2 separate regions of the Homo sapiens genome follow, and region 2 is linked to region 1. Evidence: promoter capture Hi-C in human tissues and cell types (Jung and others, 2019). All regions are on one chromosome and are shown on one strand. The core of a region is centred on a gene start or on the middle of the fragment in contact, and the rest is flanking DNA. Distances in the headings are between cores, read along the strand shown.

Region 1 (3,230 bases), core at 424-2,923:
GTACAGCGACTCCCCGAGACCGAGGGAGAAGATTGCTGAGACGAAGACGCCATGCGCCCGCGACAGGTGGTTCTTGGCGCCTTTGCCGCCCGCGGCTCCGTAGGCTGAGATCCTGCGGGGAACGGACGGTGAGTCCCCGGCCTTCGGTGCTCAGGCCGGCCGCTCCGGGCAGAAGTTGGCGACAGAGGAGGCTCCAGAATTATTTTTTATCTGAGGGACTTGGAGGCTGCAATCGACTCTGACGGGATGGGAAGGGTAGGTTTGCACACCGAAAAATCAGATATTACACTTATTTCAGGAGGGTTCGTGGAAATGTGGGGAGGCTCAAGCACCCCTTGGCGCCGCCCTGGTTGGGGGCCTTCCGCTCGGTGTAAGAGGTTCCGGGTAAGGGCTAACTCGGTGGCGACTACTGCCACCTTGAAGGGCACTCAAGGTGGACCTCCCCGCGGAATAGTCCAAGACGCAAGTCGGTGCGCACGTGGACTTCGTTACCCTGAGGGTGAAACCTCCAACTAGCAGGTCACTGTCCACCCTACCTCCGCCGTGCACTTACAGATACTGGCCAGGGCCCGGCACGCGCCACAGCTGCACGCCTCTCAGCTGCCCGGCGGCCCCCACGGTCACCACCACGCTGGTCCCCGCGTACGCCCCGTCACATTGTGTCTGTGTGGGCCCATGCCGGCCGCTGGCCCCGCAGGTAGAAAACAGCCAAGACCCCTCGGTGCCTGAGAGCAAGGAGCGAGGCAAGGGTCGTCGAGCCCCTGGCTGGGCCAGAGGGGTCTGGTATGGTGAGCGAAAGAGGAAGGAGGCGTCTAAAGCTCACCCGGAGAATTCAGCGGGGAGGCTGGCTCCAAGATACTAGGCGGGGCGCTGACTTTCGGGTCCCGGGGGCTGGGACTTGCCAGCGGCAGGGGCGAGGACCGCAGAAAAGTCTCCTGGGACCCCGGGCTAGAGCAGAGAATGGCGCCTGAAAGGTGTTGGGAGAAGGCGCAGGACGTTAAGGCGGGTGGAAATAGGATATGAAAGAAAGAGAGAACCCCGCAACAGCTGCCCTTGCGGTCGCGGCCACACCCGTCACCCGGCCCAGCCGCGCTCTCAGCCTGGAAGCCACTACCCGACTCCGGTCGCAGAAGCCCCGCGGGTGCGCGCTGATAGGTCTGCCAGTTTCTCTCCTCGAGCGCCTTTCCCAGTGAATAACTTAGGGGCCGCAATGAATTTGGTCCTGCAGCCTCCCCAATGCTTTCCTCAACTTAGATTGGTGGCCCCGCCCCAAGGCGGTGCTGAGACCCCAAAGAATGTTCCTCCTTCCCAAGCTGCGTGATCCAGACTCTGGGATTCGCACGCACTTGGCGCTTCTCGGCCCGCACTCCAGAAGCACGGACCGGAGAAATTTGGCTGTGAGAGTTCGAGGCCTCTGGAGGAACCACTGACACCTGGCCTGTTGACCGGCCACCCCCAAGCCTAGGAAAGTGCCTCAGGCTGGACGGTCCCCTGACCGCCAGATAGCACTTACCCGCGGCTCCGAACCACACCAGCAGCTGTCCCCAGCAGCCCATCCCTGTTGGGTCCACCCGGCAACAAAAGCCCTTGCGGTCGCGGCCACACCCCTGTCAACCTAAAGTTGACAGCTCATTTTGCCACGGCAGCCCTGGCCACCACTTACAGGGGTGTGCTGCCGCTGGCGAGACACTCCCCGGACCTAAAGCTGGTCTGGCCACGCCCACCTCAGACCCCAGGACGCCAGAGGAGGAAAGGGAGGGGCGTGTGGGCAGCGAGGTCCCTACGCTTCCGGGAGGAGCCTTAAGGAGTCCCCACCCAGGGGTTCTAGTTTCCAGCCGTCAGATGTGCCGCAGCCTGCTGGGAGCTCCGGTAGGTTTGAGGCCGGAGAGGAGGTGCCCCACGCTTAAAGTGGGAGCCACACCTCGGACACCAGGTGGGGGCTTCCAGGTTCCTGAGGACAGGAGCAGTGGAGTGTGCACTTCATTTGTGGCAGTGGTGGTGGTGGTGAGTGTGTGGCATGCGTCACCACACGTGGGAAGTACTCTAAACTGCTCCAAGTAAGGCCTCATTACCTGCCATTACTTGTGCCTTTTAGTGGTGCCTTTGTGACTGCAAGGCTGAACCTCATTGCTACTCCCAGAAACCTGGATCTCTGTGTTTGCCTCATATAATTCCGTTGCCTGTGTTACCCCTGTGCACAGCCTCTCACTGTGATGGGGTGAAAGACTGGACCAGACGTTAGAAGATCCGAGTGTTTTTAGTAGCACTGAAGGTCAATAGATGATAGGTAGGTAGACCGATCGATCGATTGATCTTGAGCACTAGTACTGGCACCTCTGGTCAATGGGTGATGTAGCACAGGCCACAACTGCCCTGAGAGTTTCCCCACCACCTGCAAAATCATATGAAGGGAAATTGCTCTGTAAGGTACCCTACAAATGTGGGAGCCACTCCCTTCAGGTAGTTTTGTGTCTTGAGTCTTCGATCATTTGCTTAAATGATCATTTGCCGGGTGCGGTGGTTCATGCCTGTAATCCTAGCACTTTGGGAGGCTGAGGCGGGCAGATCACCTGAGGTCAGGAGTTCGAGACTAGCTAGACCATCATGGCAAAATCCCGTCTCTACTAAAAATACAAAATCAGACACACGTGGTAGCGCACGCCTGTAATCCCAGCTACTCTGGAGGCTGAGGCAGGAGAATGGCTTGAACCTGGGAGGCAGAGGTTGCAGAGACGAGATCGCACCATTGCACTCCAGCCTGGGCAACAAGAGCAAAGCCCCATCTCAAAAAAAAAAAAAAAAAAAAAATCCTAACTTGAAAGTCTGAGACCTATGTTTAATACAAAATACTTCAAAAGAGAAGTTATAGTAGTTAGCTACTTGGTAAAGTCTGAGTATAATTCAAGGTGTAAACAGAACAGTGATTTTGTAAAAAGTCTGGTCTCAGCCAGGCGTGGTGGCTTACACCTGTAATCCCAGCACTTTGGGAGGCCAAGGGGACGGTGGGGGTGGGGTGGATCACAAGGTCAGGAGTTCAAGACCAGCCTGGCTAAGATGGTGAAACCCCGTCTCTACTAAAAATACAAAAATTAGCCGTGCGTGGTGGCAGGTGCCTGTAATCCCAGCTACTTGGGAGGCTGAGGCAGAGAATTGCTTGAACCTGGAAGGCAGAGGTTGCAGTGAGCCGAGATTGCACCACTACACTCCAGCCTGGGTGACAGAGTGAGACT
Region 2 (3,230 bases), core at 443-2,942, 420 kb after region 1:
CAAGATATATTTGCACGTTATCGTGCCAACTGTATACACTTGCACCGTACATGCTAAACTGTGTAAATCCACTGTGGCACTGTTTGTAACGGCAAAAGATTAGGAACAGCCTGAATGTCACCCACCAAAAGGATGGCACCTATTAATTCTGGTCTATCTATATGATGGACTGCGGGAGGCAGCTCCGAAGTACAGACATGGACAAGCTCCAAGATTTACTATAAGTGGGAAAATCAAGACACAGGGCAGTGGAGCGAATCCCGCCAGGGCTCCACGTGAGTGGGCGGGTGAGCTGGGAGAAGCCCCAGGGTCTGCAGGCAGGGTCTGCTCTGGGAGAGGAACTGGGGGATATGGGTGGTACAGACATTCTTCACTATCTTTTTGTAGCCTTTTGTCCCAAGCACATACACACCTACCCACCGCAGGGTGCTTCAGAAAGGTGAAACGCTGCATACATGGTCTGATTTGTGCTTTGCATCTCGATTTGGATTCCAACAGGAGGCAATTTTGAGAAAGAGACTAAGATTACAGGTGAATGGAGGTTTCTTGAGGAAACTGCATCAGGGCATGTGTGAGAAATATCCCTAGATACAAGAAAGAGGATTATGGCAAAAAGAATTGGAGGAGTGCCAGAAGCCGGGCCCCTCAGCCACACCCGGGAACACTGCTCCCGGGTCATTCTCTTCAGCAGGTTTCCCACCTCCAGCCCTTGTCTGCACTCTCGTGGCTTTCCATAGCTCTACGGTCAGGCCCAAATACTTCACGCACCCTCACCGCCCCTGCTTTGGATCTCTGGAAGAGCAAGGCCCTTGTCTGAGTCCCAGGACTCGGCCATCCTCTGCCCTCCCCTGGGAAATGCTGAGCGCTTGGCCGAGAGGGCCCTCTGAGCTGGGTCCGTCTATTCTGGGACCACCCCAGTTCTATAAAATGAATCATGACCGCCCCTATCACCAGTTATTAATCATGATCCATGTTAAATGGTTTACACATGTTATCTTCAAAACAACCCTGGGAAGGAAAATTCCCTCACTTTATAAAAGCGGAAAGAGGCTCACAGGGCCCCATGCTGGGATTCAAGCTCAGGTCAGCCTCCTCCAGGGCCCACAGGAGTGTGCCTGCATCTCCCCACCTCCCTCTGTCTTTCTAAGGAAAATACAGATGCTCCCTGAAAGCCTTGTTATTTTCAGCGTTTCCCCAACCACAGGCTTGTTTGGATGGTCGAGATGCCTGCCTGCCTGCCGGGCACAGGTACATGAAACCTGAATTCAAGCCACACGTGTATCCTGGGGAGGACCTTTTGCTGTTTCCCTCTCACTCTGAGCTTCATAGATAACAGGAACGGCTGATATCTATGGAGCACTTAGGTATGAACACAGATCATTCAGATTCTCGTAAGATCCCACTGTACGAGAGAAAGTACCTTCCCCTGTTTTAGAGCAGGGGAAAATGAAGCTCAAAGAGGTGAAGTAACTCGCCCAGGTTGCCCAGCTGGCAAGGGAAAGAGCCAGGGACAGGGAGAAACGTGCCCGGCCAGTGTTTCTCGGCATGGATTGCCACTGCCTCTCTTCCACCTAGAATCCTGCATTTATAATCTTTCCCTCCCACCTTCTAGGCTGGGGGTTCCCCACTGGTGCACAGTGATTAGGAGGGAGAGAAGCTTTACCACCTCTAGCAACAGGGATTGAGGCTGTGTAACAGGAATGTCCCCATAAAACCAGGGAAGGTTATTAAACGTTTCAAAGTGTACCTGAAAACTTAAAAAAATTCCTTCTTTATTTTCATTAGGGGTTCCTAAAAATCCTAGCTTCCGAAGTAGGCTAGGCGGGGGTGCTCCTGCAAGCAGTGAGACACAGACAGAGGACCCAGCATCAGGCCTCACGCCCTCCCTGTCAGACGCCCATGAGGCCGACAGGGTCACTTGGTGACTCCTGCGGGACAGTCACCTCTGCTTCCTTCCAAAGCCCTGCCCTGGAAGGAGGCTGGTTAGTCACAGAGCCTGCCCCACCCCATCGTCTCTCTCACTCAAGTTCTCCCCTCCGTTCTCTGAGAGGGCAGCCTTCACCCTCGGGCATACAGAGATGCAGGACAAAGCCCAGGTTGGTTTCGGTAGGTTCTCCAAGTTTGCCAGCCCCTTCTTTCACTTGTTTTGGGGATGGCAGGGTATGTAGGAGGGACAGGCTCAGGCTCAGGAGTGGTGGCTCAGCCCTAACCCAGATTCCTCAAAATGGGGCCCCCTGTATCAGAACCCTCTGGACCCTGCCCAGATGCCCCTGAACCATGTGCCAGGAAGTTTTTTTTTTTTTTTTTCAAATAAATAAATGGAGTTTTGCTCTGTTACCCAGGCTGGAGTACAGTGGCACAATTATAGCTCACTGCAGCCTCAAACTACTGGGCTCAAGGTTCTCTTGCCTCGGCCTCCCAAGGAGATAGGACTACGAGAACACACCACCACACCCAACTAATTTATTTTATTTTTTGTGGAGACTGGGTCTCTCTATGCTGCCCAGGCTGGTCTGGAACTCCTGCCCTCAAGTGATCCTCTCGACTCAGCCTCAAGTTCTAGGACTACAAGTGTGAGCCCCTCTGCCTGGCTGAAGCAGCATTTTAACAGCTCCCCAGGTGATAACTGTCTGTGGACCCTGGGGCTCACCGTGCTAGTCTTCCGAGCATCATTTGCAGCCGTGTGGACTCCAGAGCAGGAGGGGGCAGCAGGGAAAGGCTGGCCTAGAACATATATGCCACATGTATGACAGAGAAGGAAAGGACAGCAATTGCACGGCCGAAGGAAAGAGAAAAACCAGCAACCAAACACGCCCAGAGAACTGAGTGGCAGGCCCAGGGCTGTTCTTGCCCAGTACAGGAAGACCCGGACATTCCTAATAATTCTAGGTAATCAACAGAAGATTGAAAAAGACAATCCTTCAGTGGCTTCCTGGTACTCTCAGAGAAAAATCTATGCACTTCCCCAGGGCCTACAGCTCACAGCAGGTGGCGGGGGGGCCTCCTGATCTCATCACCCACCACTTCCTGGCTGCTCCCTAGCCTCTGCCTTCCCCGAATCTGCCAGGTCTCACCTACTCTCTGCCTTTGCCAATGCAGCTCCTCCTGCTGAAGAGCTCTTCCCCCAACTCTCTGCCAGGCAAACCCTCCATTCTTTACGTCCAGCCTAAATGCCACCTCCTCAGAGAGCCCTCCCTGACTGCCCACCCCTTGCTGTGGGACATGTCTTT

The links. Contacts are between HindIII fragments. The study calls those that stand out against the background at their distance.
Region 2: a fragment that was not itself captured here is called in contact with the fragment with the promoter of LTK in region 1 in 3 of the 25 tissues and cell types used here (IMR-90 fibroblasts, bladder and lymphoblastoid cells).

The regions. Positions count from the first base shown.
Region 1 is chr15:41,512,154-41,515,383 of GRCh38, forward strand. LTK (leukocyte receptor tyrosine kinase) reads right to left here and starts at 1,674. Exons shown (of 20, transcript NM_002344.6): 1 at 1,514-1,674; 2 at 824-967; 3 at 554-725; 4 at 1-112. The coding sequence starts at 1,556. RefSeq lists an enhancer at 506-1,253 and a silencer at 960-1,039. The HindIII fragment of the contact is 13,334 bases long and covers 1-3,230 here.
Region 2 is chr15:41,932,020-41,935,249 of GRCh38, forward strand. All of the region lies in intron 3 of EHD4 (EH domain containing 4), which reads right to left. Among named protein-coding and RNA genes, the nearest start is that of EHD4-AS1, 12 kb to the left of the region's middle. The HindIII fragment of the contact is 3,951 bases long and covers 1-3,230 here.